4 separate regions of the Homo sapiens genome follow, and regions 1, 2 and 3 are each linked to region 4. The links are contacts of gene promoters, found by promoter capture Hi-C in blood cells and fetal thymus (Javierre and others, 2016). All regions are on one chromosome and are shown on one strand. The core of a region is centred on a gene start or on the middle of the fragment in contact, and the rest is flanking DNA. Distances in the headings are between cores, read along the strand shown.

Region 1 (3,135 bases), core at 619-3,118, 560 kb before region 4:
CTTAGGTGTGTAACATTTGATTGTAGTCCTTTCAAGGCCTGACACATTAGTGGTCACCTGATAAATGTGGCAGGGGCAAGTTAGTTATTGATGGATTTTTTTTTTACATGATTTGTGCAAAGGCCCTTGGAGAGAATGAAGTTAGCAGTATTATCTCATCTTGGAGAAAGCAGCATAATATATCCAGAATCATACTACCAGTAGGATGTGGATATTGTATTCTAATAGCCAGAGTGAATCCAAATTATCTGATTTAGAGATTCCAAAGGATTTCATAAGTCATATGCAATATACCACAAGCATCCTGGTAACTTATAACCTTATTACTAAGATTATTATCTTGAAAAAATTTCTAGGCCGGGCACCGAGGCTCATGCCAGCATTTTGGGAGGGACAGGAGGATTGCTTGAGCTGAGGAGTTCAAGGCCAGCCTTGCAACGTAGCAAGATCCCATCTCTGTTTAAACAGATAAGAGTTTTTTTAATGTCTTAAAGGGCCTCCTGGCAGGGCACAGTGGCTCACTCCTGTCACCCCAGCACTTTGGGAGGCCAAGGTGGGTGAATCATGAGATCAGGAGTTCGAGACTGGCCTGGCCGCCAACATGGTGAAAGCCCATCTCTACTAAAAATACAAAAATTAGCTGGGTGTGGTGGCAGATGCCTGTAATCCCAGCGGTTCCAGAGGCTGAGGCAGGAGAATCGTTTGAACCCAGGAGGTGGAGGTTGCAGTGAGCCAAGATTGTGCCACTGCACTCCAGTGTGGGTGACAGGGCAAGACTCCATCTCAAAAAAAAAAAAAAAAAAAAAAAAGGGCCTCCTGTTGGTCAGGTCACATCACGAGTCAAAAGAAAGTCCCAGACTTCTGCTTCTTCCTGGAAGTATTCCCTTCCTCTCACCTATCATGCACAGCCTGGACAGTATTGATTTCAGTGGTCCCTAACATCCAGCACTCCCAGGTCCCCTCTGTCTCCCTCATACATGACATAGTTCATTGCCTTTTTTGAGCCCGTCTTCTATTCCTCCCATCTCTGAAGCCTAGGGCCCACTTTCAGTCATCAGGAGTCCCCCTTTACCTTCCTGCTGTGGGTCTCCCCTGTGCACATTGCCTCCCTTCTAAGGGTGACTGCTTTCCTTCCACTTTCTTTTCTTTCTTTCTTTGTGCAGTGGTACGATTTTGGCTCACTGCTACCTCTGCCTTCTGGGCTCAAGTGATCTTCCTGCCTCAGCCTCCCGAGTATCTGGGACTACAGGTACACGCCACCATGCCTGGCTAGTTTTTGTTTTTGTGTTTGTTGTTTTATTTTTTTGAGACAGAGTCTTGCTCTGTCGCCCAGGCTGGAGTGCAGTGGCATGATCTCAGCTCACTGCAACCTCCACCTCCTGGGTTCAAGTGATTCTCATGCCTCAGCCTCCCAAGTAGCTTGAACTACAGGTGTGCACCACCACGCCCAGCAAATTTTTGTATTTTTAGTAGAGATGGGCTTTCACTGTGTTGGCCAGGCTGGTCTTGAACTCCTGGCCTCAAGCGATCTGCCCACCTTGACCTCCTAAAGTGTTGGGATCATAGGCGTGAGCCACCGTGCCCATTCCTTTTTTCCTGAACATTTTCCAAGTGAGGTTGTTGGAAATCACGGATGGGGAACTATGCATGCGGAGGGCTGACTGTAATTGATTTCTTTCTGCCTCCTCACTAATCTGCACACTGCAGGCAGGGACCTGGTCTCATCATGCCTGCACCTCCAAGCACTGCCCTCTTACACTGTAGTCTCCCCATTGGTCAGCATGGTTCCATGAAGGAACTCCATTATCACAGCAAGGACTGACCTCACACTGGTGGCTCCAAGTCACTGCCCAAACATTCTGAAGGGAGTAGAACTTCTTGATTCCTCAGATAAATAGAGGACAGATGCTGGACTGTAGCTAAGTATTTCCTTTCATCTACGGGATAAAATACTGATAATTTGAGAGTGATGGACAAGGTTCAGAGTGGTTTCCTCATTTTGTTTTTGTTTTTAATGGAATGCCAACTTCATTTATGCTTGCCGTATGCAGATGGACTCCATCCCACTGGAAACATAACAGGCTTACCAGGTAGCTTCAACCACTGGTTTTATGTGACTCAGGGAGAATTGAAAAGCTGTTTCAGGGGAGATAAAAAGAAGGTAATTACATTTCACCGCAAAAAGTTTTCTTTTCAAGGCAGTAAACGGTCACAACCACCCAGAAACATCACCAAAGAGCCCAAAGTGTTCTTTCATAAAACCCAGTTGCCTGGGATTCAAGGGGCTGCCTCGAGATCCACGGGTGAGTCATTGAATTCCTCATTCAGTGGAGTGAGAATCGTAGCCTGGAGTCCTCTTATCTGCCATGTGAATGTGTACTGTGTGCTTGCTGGTAGAAAGGTCCATAAAATAGAGTATAATTAGATAAACATTTGCTTGGAAATTAGATCTTATGCTCTTCACTCTCTGTTAACTGCTTTCTCTTTAGGGATTGCCACTTTCTTCTCTTTTTCATTTCACTTTAATAAGCGCACACAAAAACCTTGATCCCATCCAGATTACACAGGTATGCCTGTCTGACTTGAATTTGGTGCACATTTGGCAGTAGAGCATGCAAGTCTAGACACAGAAGGTTTGTGAGTGTACAGAATTCTTTTTTTTCTTTTTTTTTTTTTTGAGACAGAGTCTTGCTCTGTCGCCCAGGCTGGAGTGCAGTGGCGCGATCTCGGCTCACTGCAAGCTCCACCTCCTGGGTTCACACCATTCTCCTGCCTCAGCCTCCCAAGTAGCTGGGACTACAGGCACCCGCCACCACGCCAAGCTAATTTTTTGTATTTTTAGTAGAGACAGGGTTTCACTGTGTTAGCCAGGATGGTCTTGATCTCCTGACCTCATGATCCGCCCGCCTCGGCCTCTCAAAGTGCTGGGATTACAGGCATGAGCCACCATGCCCAGCCGAGAATTCTTTATAAGCATTTTCTATGGTTCCCTTCTAATTTGAGTACTAGAGGATGTTTGTTTATCTTATAACAGCAAAACCAACCCCGACAATCTTTGAAGCTCAGCAACCCTTTGTGGAGATATATGATGCTTGTAAATAATCTCCATTCCATGCAAGGGAAATGCTGTCTGTG
Region 2 (3,294 bases), core at 536-3,035, 540 kb before region 4:
TGCACTGGCTGGACCCTTCACTTGCTCGCTCACACACCCCTTGCGGCTCCGCGCCTGGCTCGCCCTTGGTAGGTGTGGGATCCAGGTGCAGCCTGCTGGGCCGAGTGGGTGGAACAAGCCCAGCGGGTGTGAGCAAAACTCAAGCAGAGGCGCGACCACAGAGGTTTCTGGCTGGCGAAGCGACACCCATTATTAGTAGCTTTCTGTAATTTGTATTTTACAATTCTTTTTCTGATATCGTATCAATTTTTTATGCAGAACAGCCCTATAATAATGGGGGCAAAGGGCCGGGCACAGTGGCTCACGCCTGTAATCCCAGCACTTTGGGAGGCCGAGGTGGGTGGATCACCTGAGGTCAGGAGTTCGAGACCAGCCTGGCCAATATGGCGAAACTCCGTCTCTACTAAAAATACAAATACAAAAAAAAAAAAAAAAAAAAAAGATTAGCCGGGTACGGTGGCGGGCGCCTGTAATTCCAGCTACTTGGGAAGCTGAGGCAGGAGAATCGCTTGAACCCGGGAGACAGAGGTTGTGGTGAGCCGAGATCGCACCATTGCACTCCAGCCTGGGCAACAAGAGCGTAACTAATGGGGGCAAAGATAATCATTTCAGCGTTGAGAAGAGATCTTGAATTTAAGATACACCCTACATTTGGGATTCAGAGCACCCTTTGTTCCACCTGTTAATGCTCTAGCTAGCCATCATGCCTTTTCAAAATACCATTCCTTTTGTTGTTCTCTTTCTGAGCTTGATGTCAAATTATTAAAAAGAAGTGAATATAAAGGCATGGAGAAAGTGAGATTAGATTCATGCAAGTGTTGCTTAGTGAATTGGACACAATGTTTGACTACACAGGCACGAGAGGGACCCAGAGACAGGGATCTACTTATGTCCTGCTGCTGCAGGGTGCCTCCGCATCCCACCTTCATCCTCTTTGTCATGAACCTGTGTGGAGTGTTTTTTTTCTTGTCCCTAATCAAACATACAGAGACTGAGAAAACTGACTCCAGTGCTTGAGTGCATGCGTTTGAATTGCAACATAGTCTTTTTTTTTTTTTTTTTTTTTTTTTTTTTTTGAGACAGTGGCTCGCTCTTTCCCCCAGGCTGGAGTGCAGTGGCGCGATCTCGGCTCACTGCAAGCTCTGCCTCCCGGGTTCAAGCTATTTTCCTGCCTCAGCCTCCGGAGTAGCTGGGGACTACAGGCGCCCGCCACCACACCCAGCTAATTTTTCTTTTTTTTTTTTTTTTTGTGGTATTTTTTGTATTTTAGAGACGGGGTTTCGCTGAGTTAGCCAGGATGGTCTCGATCTCCTGACCTCGTGATCCGCCCGCCTCGACCTCCCAAAGTGCTGGAATTACAGGCGTGAGCCACCGCGCCCGGCCGCAACATAGTCATATTTATTTGCTTTCTCAACCAGTGGATATATTTTGTGACTGACTGACTGTATGTAATAATATGTGCATCTGGATATGTGCCTCTGGGAACACATGAAATGACACGTCTCCAAACAAACACTGGCAGACAGCAATCGGTAGAAACCTGGGTACGTCTCCTTTAAGAAAGAACGAAGCCTCGCCTCCGCCCCAACCTGGAGTGTCCATTTCCCAGCGCCCCCTACAGGGGTTTGGCCTTTACTTCCGGAAGGAGGTGGAGGCGACCCTCACTCTCCCGCCGTGCGCCTGTGGGAACATTACCCAGAATGGCCTGCGTTGGGCGACGGCGACCTTCAGCCAATGAGGCCTCCGAAAGGTGGTGTTTCCGTAAGCGCACGCGCGGTCGCGGCGGGACTTCCGTTGTCCTCCTTGTGGCGGTCGTTTTGGCATTTGTCTGGACTGATTACTTGGTAGAAAGCCCCGGAGCGCTGGGTCAGCATCATCCGTGACTGACTGAGAAGGCGCGAGAGGAGTCTTCCCCGCTGCACAGAGGCGTGGCTGAGGCTCGGCGGCGCCCAGGGTACCCAGGCCCGGCCCGGAATAAGGACATCCTCTCTGGCCCCGCTCCGCTCACAGAGTCAGATGGCGGCGGCCGAGCTGACGGCCCCGGCCCAGGTATGTGCCGCGTCCTCTGGGCCTTCCCCGCCCTCCCCACGCTAGTCCTAGCACCCCCGAGGGCGCTTGCTCGCGGCCCTGCTGCCCAGGACAGGACACGGGGGCTCGCCGGAGGGGCTCCCGTTTCCAACACCTGGTGTGCTAGGGAAGGGAGGGCGCGACTGGCAAGGAGCCCCTGATGAGAGGCGCCACTGAGCCCTGGGGCACAGAGGTGACACAGCCATTGCGAGGGCACCCGGCTCCAAGGCCAGGCATGGGGCTACGGGGTGGCTTGAGCCCATCTAATACCGCCATAGATGCTCTTCTCTGAGGCCTGGCTCTTTCTACGTTTCCCTTGGCTGTAAAGGGTTATGAAATCTACGCCAGGAAGGGGAGGGTTTCCCAGTCTCTCACTAGCCCTAACTCCCACCCACAGGTTCTCTGGGTTGTGGAGTGCCATTCCCCCAGCCCTTAGTTCTGAAGACCTTGGGTGAACCCCAAGCCCAGGGTCCTATGTCCATGTTAGCCGGTATATAGAGTTGTTCCAATTTCTGGCAGCCATGTGAACGGGTGTGGAAAGTTTTTCCAGAAAGGTACAAGATGTGCAAATGCTTAGGTGCAGTACGGAGCTGGGTGCATTTATGAAGCCACAAGTCTCCTTGCTTTCTGGTGGGAAGCAAAGAACAGGAGGATAGGCGTCAGGACTGCAGTGGCTGCCTGAGAAGTTGAGTGTGTTTTCAGGAGGTAATAGCAAGTTTGAATCAGAAAAAAGAGGTAATTTACCAAGGTCTTCACAGGCTTCATCTGTGTGCACAGTGGGGCACAAACTGGGGGGTTGAGGGAGGAGGAAGGAAAATCAGGGTAGACTAGTCCAAGTGAGGGTTACTGGCCCAGGATCGTGATTTAGGAGATGTGGTTAGATTCCGGATGTGTGGTTTCAAAAGGGACAACTAAATTACATAATGTAGGTGGTGAGGGAGTGAAACAGAGGGTTCAGAGAAGACTCCAGGGTTTTTGGTATTAGCAGCTGTAGGGAAAGAAGTTTCATCAACTAAGATGAACAAATTGGCAATAGGAGTAATATTCACTAGGGATATCAGGTTTGTTTATGCCATGCTAAGAGTCAGATCTTTCAGAGCCTACTAAATGGAGGCGTTAAGTGGGCAGATGAACGTGCCGGTCTTGAAATCTAGGGAGTGGTTCAGGGTGCAGATATTCAAGATGTGGCTGTTGTGCGCACCAAGGTTAGTGAGCTGTGGGTCACAG
Region 3 (3,256 bases), core at 600-3,099, 510 kb before region 4:
GGTTCTGGTGTCATAAAGGGGCAGACAGCTTTTGTTGGGATCACTAGACTTTGTGTGCCTCAGAGGGGACAGTATGATGACAGAATATACTGTCTCTTCACTTGTGGCATAGTTTTCATGGCTGCCCAAGGCCTCCAAAGACTCCAGAACTTTGTGGTCCTTATTTGTTGACTAGATACTCCAATAATTTCTGGGTTTATAGATAAACCTGAGAAGGGAACAGTGTTTGTGACATCCTCTGATGCTTCTGAGATCGACACGAAAATTTCCTCTCTTTTACAAGGGATATTGCATTCTGCTCAGTACTGCTGAGGGAAATCTGTTCCCTAGGTCCTGGAATGCAGCCATGTGCTCTGATATCCAGAGTTTCGTAGTGTGGTGTCCCAGGTTATGAGATTATAACAGGAAGTCATAATTTATAGAATTTCTGCATTTATAGGCAGTGGAGGACACTGCAAGAACAGAGTTGGAATGCACGTCATCCACATTGATTCAGTTACTATGTATGTGGTGGACTGTCAGGTACAGAAATTCTCAGAACCTCCATAATTATGAATCTTGTGTAGCTGAGGCCATTGTCAAAGGAAATAATATAAAGGATTCGTGGATTCCTGTACCCTTTCTCGGCTGTTCACCTCAAGGCAATTCCTGCATTGGCAGGAGGAAGAGGATAGGGAGAAGGGAGATCTCTTAGTCCAGTGATGTGGTCTTTGTGACCAACCAGTGTTCCAATTTAATCAGGTGAAAATGGCCTTCCTGGCTTATCAGTATTTGCTGCCGCAGAGACTCATTGCTGCACTTAGGACATGAGGAGATTTTGTATAGTTGTCAAGCATGTTTGTCAAAAATAATAGAAAATCCATGTTTTTCTTTTTTTTTTTTTCTAAGACAAGGTGTTGCTCTGTGACCCAGGCTGGAGTACAGTGGCGAGATCATAGTTCACTGCAGCCTCGAACTCCTCAAGCAATCCTTTTCCCTCAGCCTCCCAAAGTGCTGGGATTACAGGCCTCAGCCATCATGTCCAGCCCACATTTTTCTTTTGAATCAATTCTTTAAAGCCATAATAAGGAATAAATGACATTCTGTAAACTATACATATTTAAACTGTACCATGTGGTAAGTTTAGACTTTCATAGAAACCCATGAAAGTGGCCAGGCACGGTGGCTCACGCCTGTAATCCCAGCACTTTGGGAGGCTGAGGCAGGCGGATCACGAGGTCAGGAGATCGAGACCATCCTGGCTAACATGGTGAAACCCCGTCTCTACTAAAAAAATACAAAAAATTAGCTGGGCGTGGTGGCAGGCGCCTGTAGTCCCAGCTACTCGGGAGGCTGAGGCAGGAGAATGGAGTGAACCCGGGAGGTGGAGCTTGCCGTGAGCCAAGATCGCACCACTGTACTCCAGCCTGGGTGACAGAGCAAGACTCGGTCTCAAAAAATATATATATATGTGTATATATGTGTGTGTGTGTGTGTGTGTGTGTGTATGTATATATATGTATATATGTATATATGTGTGTGTATATATGTATATACATGTATGTATATGTATGTATATATGTATATATATGTGTGTATATATGTATGTGTGTGTATATGTATATATATATATATTTTGCATCCCTTGGCATAAATGGGTTAGGTAAGTGTGTCACTAAATAGAAAAATACTCCCGTCTGCAATGAATTAGAAAGTTGCTTTTGATTCTTTCTTAATTTTTTTTGTTTTTGAGACAGAATGTCCGTCTGTCTGCCCAGGCTGGAGTGGCACGATCTCAGCTCACTGCAGCCTCCACCTCCAGGGTTCAAGCGATTCTCCTGCCTCAGCCTCCCGGGTAGGTGGGATTACAGGCATGCACCACCATGCCCGGTTAATTTTTGTATTTTTAGTGGAGATGGGGTTTTACCATGTTGTTCAGGCTGGTCTTGAAGTCCTGACCTTGTGATGATCTGCCCGCCTCGGCCTCCCAAAGTGCTGGGATTTCAGGCATGAGCCATAGTGCCTGGCCCTTTTTTTTTTTTTTTTTTTGAGACAGTGTCACTCTGTTGCCCAGGCTGGAGTACAGTGACACAATCACAATTCACTGCAGCCTTGACCTGCTGGACTCAAGTCATCCTCCCACCTCAGCCTCCCAAGTTGCTAGGGACAGGCATGTGCCACCACGCACAGCTAATTTTTAAAATTTTTCTGTAGAGATTAGGTCTCACTATGTTGCCCAGGCTGCTCTCAAAACTCCTGAGCTCAAGGGATCTTCCCACCTTGGCCTCTCAAAATGCTAAGATTACAGGATGAGCCACTGTGCCTGGCATGCTTTTGGTTTTTTTCTTGCAATTTAACAAAGTGGTGTCCCATATATTTAAGTATCAAATGTATAACTGAATTTTCTTTCTTTTCAGGGATCTCAAGGGCATTTCCCTTTGCCCACCTCACCTTTTCATATTTGGTAAACTGTATGCATTTGCCTCCAGCCCAAGATTATAAATATGAACTGATTATGATCTGCATGTTCTCTCTTTGGGTTCAAGCATTTCCTTACAGAAGAGCCACCGTGGAAGTCATGGGTAAATATGTGTTGAATTGGTAACTCCCTCTTGGAGAATTTCTTGTGAATTACACAGCAATAGGGGAACTCATTTAACTGGAGACATAATCTCAATTTGTAAAGTGTGGCCCATTTTCTAACATTTTTATTTTGCATACCCTCCCCTCTCTTCTCGATTGATGAAACTAACAAAGAGGTTAATAAAAGCCCATCTCGTCATGTACAGGGACTCATGCCTTTAATTCCAGTGTTTTGGGAGACTAAGGCAAGAACATCCTGGAGGCCAGGAGTTCGACACTGTATAACAGATATATCTGACAGCAGTAACTCAAGCACACCCTAAGAATGACCCTGTGGTCTAAGAAGAGTGTTGGTTCAGCGTTCCAAACGAAGAAATCCAGGAGTGGCCAACCTGGAGGTTTCTGAACCCCTGGCCTGTTCCTTGGAATGAGGCCCTTTGTTTTGAGCTAGGCGGAGGGTGATAAGTGAAAATACTATATAAACTGCATGCTTCTTTCAAATGATAGTGGTTTTTTTGTCCAGCCTGCCGCTCCTGGACTGCCCTGTATCTAAGTCCTCAATAAACCCTATGTCTCATTTTCTTTCTTTCTTTCTTTTTTGAGATGGAGTTTCGCTCCTGTTGCCCAGGCTGGAGTGCAGTGGCGTGATCTCGGCTCACTGCAACCTCCACCTCCCGGTTCAAGCGATTCTCCT
Region 4 (3,415 bases), core at 241-2,740:
AACACGGTGAAACCCCGTCTCTACTAAAAATGCAAAAAATTAGCCTGGCGTGGTGGCGGGCACTTGTAGTCCCAGCTACTCGGGAGGCTGAGGCAGGAGAATTGCTTGAACTCGGGAGGCGGAGCTTGCAGTGAGCCGAGATCGCGCCACTGCACTCCAACCTGGGCGATGGAGCGAGACTCTGTCTCAAAAAAAAAAAAAATGTTTTACACATTCATAAATAAATAAGTTGCAGGGAGGGGATAAGCAAGCAGGTCAGTTACTGGTCCCATCAGCAACCAGGCCTGCCTGCTACAAATTCAGTTGCTGGAAGCTTGCTGGAGGCCCTTGACTAGATGTGAGAAAGCCCTACCCCCGTCTGGACCCAATGTCCCCACTAGTCTGGATGACCTTCCTATTGTTCCACAGAGTGGGCCTGGGGGGCTGCTGGGTCTGCAGGTGCAGAAATCTAAACCACCTCACACCTCAGTCTCCAGCCTAGGCCAGTTCCTTAACCCATTCAGAACTCCGTTTTTGCAGATATGAGCCAGAATCCCTCCTATGACAGGTCTGCGCCTTTCTAAAGGTAGCGTCAGGCTTATGGACCCACCCATGATCTGCCCTCCAAAACTCAGCCCTCCAAAATGCAACTCATAATCCTCTCTGAAACCTGCTCCCTAAGCTGACTTCTCCAACTCCATTCTTTCAGATTTTCAGGCCAAAACAAAATCCATGGAATAGACCCTTCACTACCCTCACTGCTACATTTGATGCAGCAGGAAATCCTGTCGACTCTATCTCTGAGATCCATCCAGAATCTCATCACACTTCCCCTCTACTGCAACCCCTCTGGCCCATCCCTACCATAACTCAAGGGGTCTCCTCAGCGGTCCCCTTGTCCTGGTTTAACATCCTGTTTTTCCCAACTTTAAACGTCTACCTCTGGGCATAACCCTTCCTGCACAGCCTTCTACGGCTTTCAGCAGCTCCGCTGCCCTCCCAGGCGAGACTCCGCCTCACCCTCAGCTCCGTGGAGACAAAGACGCTCGGGCTCCCCAGTGCCGCCCGCTCTGCAGCACCTCTAAGCCTCGCACGTGCAGGTCCCTGACAGGAGCTCCCCCGCCTCACAGCACCGCGGACACCGGTACCCCACACAAGAACGCTCCTCTCTTTGGGACACAGGGGCCTGACCTGCAGGGCCCCTCCTCGGGGCTTCGGCACTCGGAGGAGGGATCGGGCGGGGCGCCCTGGGACGCGGCACCCACCTCAGTCAGGTTCATCGGCGCAGCCTCCGCCAGCACAGCCAGGGAAGAGCGGGGCGGGAGCGGCAGTGACCTGGACGCTGACAGAGGCACCAACGCCTGCAACCGATTCAACCGAGCCTCACTCTAGCCTCTGTACAACGGGGAAACCTTTTCTCGCGTTTTTCCGCTTTTTCACCTCAGTCTCGACTCAGCCTGAAGGTGAACAGATCCCAACGCAGCCATATTGACAACCCCAGGAGGCGTTGCAGGAAGTCCCGCCCACACGCATTGCGAACCCCCGTAGACGCCGCTCTGCTAGGCCTTCATTGGCTACACTCGCTGCTTGTGTCCGCCGCTGTGTCTTTTGGGTAATGTAGTTCCCAGGCCACTGCCTGCCCCGCTTCTGAACTTAAGTTAACTCGCGTTCAGGATGAAAGCCAGGAGGATCCTCCTGAGGCTTTGAGAAATGCAGTTGCGGGGCTCCAAGGACGTGGAGGGGCTTCATTGGCTTTTAAACGGCAAGCATCCAGATTTTCCCGGAAGGCAGTCTAGAACAAGTCAGAGAAATGTTTCAGAGACCTGTCCTTTCAGATTCTGTAAAGCACAGCAAGTTCCCAAAAGACGAACATCCGAAGGAACATGGCCAACCATAAAGAACTGGTCTTCCACGCATAGCGGTCAGCTCTTTTGTGCTTGCCAAATACACACAGAACGAAGCTCTGGAGACTGTTTTATGATCTTCAATGTGCTCTGCTGGGCACATTGAAAAGACCCAGACATGGCATGATGGGGAGTTTGAGGAGTAATATCTTTCCTTTCTGAATAATCAGTTATTGTCTTTCAGCCTACCCAGCAACACTTTATTCACATGATACTTATTACTTTATATCTGAGATATTTTCCACTTATTTTAAGAGACTGAAACCTAACTGAAAAGGAAAAGCGACTTATCTACCATTATCTGCCAGAATAGTGTGGCCTTCCACCAGTCAAAGCCCTTGTGCAAAGAAAGCATCTTACTCCTGAGATAAAGGTTTGGGAATGCATGATCTCATCTCATTAGTGGAAAGTGATTTATCATTTCGCCTGAAATTGTATCAACAGTGTCTGCACAGGGAGTTGAAATTGTCTCTGAATAACTCTTGTGAAATGGCTATTACTGAAACTATTAATGACGATTATGTAGATATCCAAAGAAAGTGGCAAAAATAGTTATAGAGAAACATATTTGTGATAGGAGGAAAAAAGCTAAGGTTGTCCTGGAACCTTGGACACACTCAAGTTTGGTGTCCAAAATCTGATTCTTTTTCAAACTTGAAAACATTGTGCATTAACAGCTTGAAGGGAGAGGTAAAGACTATATATTAAAAGAGTTACCAGAAAAGTAAAGCTGAATAGGGAAACTGTGCTGTCGTATTTATTACTCTAACATATTTGATGAACACTCATTCGATGCCAGGTACAATACTAAGTGCATGGGACACATTAGGAGTAGGGTTGCTAGCTGTCTGTGGTCCTCTAAGACACGTAAGACGTATTTAATGAATTAGTCCTCAGTCCTGTATTGACCTTGTCAGGTCACTTTAAATGTCCTGTATTCCGCTTTTTACAATAAATTACAAAACCTCAGAAGTTAGAGCTATTTTTCTACCACTATAATTGTAAATTAAATCACTTAGCAGCTATGTTAGCTGAAAATCATACCCCCACAAATAAAGATATGGACATAGTCTTGTGATCTCTCCTGCAGAATTGGTGAGGGAAAAATAAAATGGAGCACTGAGATATTCAGTAAAGGAGAAGACTGTTTTTTGGCCAAAGTCTTGAAATTTGGTTTATCAAATTACAAAAAGAAGGAAGGAAGGAGAGAGAAAGAAGGAAACGAAAGGAAAAGAAAAAACCACCCAACTGAAGGTCTGGAAGAGTTAAAGCTGTTCAGTAGTGCCAGCTACATGGAAGTTAAGACGGGAGGATTACTTGAGTTCATAAGTTCAAAACCAGTTTGGGCAATATAGTGAGATCCCCGTCTCTGAAAAAACTGAAAATTAAAAACATGTTAATCATTTACCAACAATACATCCCTACCATCCTACAATTCTATTTCTAGATATTTACCAACAGAAACTAAACAAACTTTTTTTTTCTTTTTTTGAGATAGAGTCTCTCTCTGTCGCCCAGGCTGGAGTGCAATG

What was found. The method cuts DNA at HindIII sites, captures the fragments that hold promoters and counts their contacts. A CHiCAGO score of 5 or more calls a contact.
Region 1: the fragment with the promoter of C19orf18 here is called in contact with the fragment with the promoter of ZNF17 in region 4 in 1 of 17 cell types (naive CD4 T cells); the score reaches 5.2 in naive CD4 T cells.
Region 2: a contact is called between the fragment with the promoter of ZNF256 here and the fragment with the promoter of ZNF17 in region 4, in 14 of 17 cell types (non-activated CD4 T cells, naive B cells, naive CD8 T cells and 11 more). The highest score is 10.1, in non-activated CD4 T cells.
Region 3: a contact is called between a fragment that was not itself captured here and the fragment with the promoter of ZNF17 in region 4, in 3 of 17 cell types (total B cells, fetal thymus and non-activated CD4 T cells). The highest score is 6.1, in total B cells.

Annotation. Positions count from the first base shown.
Region 1 is chr19:57,973,267-57,976,401 of GRCh38, reverse strand. C19orf18 (chromosome 19 open reading frame 18) reads left to right here and starts at 1,868. Exons shown (of 6, transcript NM_152474.5): 1 at 1,868-2,090; 2 at 2,199-2,303. The coding sequence starts at 1,970. The HindIII fragment of the contact is 7,599 bases long and covers 1-3,135 here.
Region 2 is chr19:57,946,197-57,949,490 of GRCh38, reverse strand. ZNF256 (zinc finger protein 256) reads left to right here and starts at 1,785. Exons shown (of 3, transcript NM_005773.3): 1 at 1,785-2,049. The coding sequence starts at 2,017. RefSeq lists enhancers at 1,547-1,636, 1,707-1,806, 2,297-2,376. The HindIII fragment of the contact is 12,388 bases long and covers 1-3,294 here.
Region 3 is chr19:57,921,770-57,925,025 of GRCh38, reverse strand. It overlaps ZNF418 (zinc finger protein 418), which reads left to right. Exons shown (of 6, transcript NM_133460.3): 5 at 1,737-1,834; 6 at 2,397-3,144. Among named protein-coding and RNA genes, the nearest start is that of ZNF417, 6.8 kb to the right of the region's middle. The HindIII fragment of the contact is 3,803 bases long and covers 1-3,256 here.
Region 4 is chr19:57,409,236-57,412,650 of GRCh38, reverse strand. It overlaps ZNF17 (zinc finger protein 17), which reads right to left and starts at 1,490. Exons shown (of 4, transcript NM_001330617.2): 1 at 1,245-1,490. RefSeq lists a silencer at 791-993 and enhancers at 1,237-1,296, 1,377-1,486. The HindIII fragment of the contact is 5,033 bases long and covers 316-3,415 here.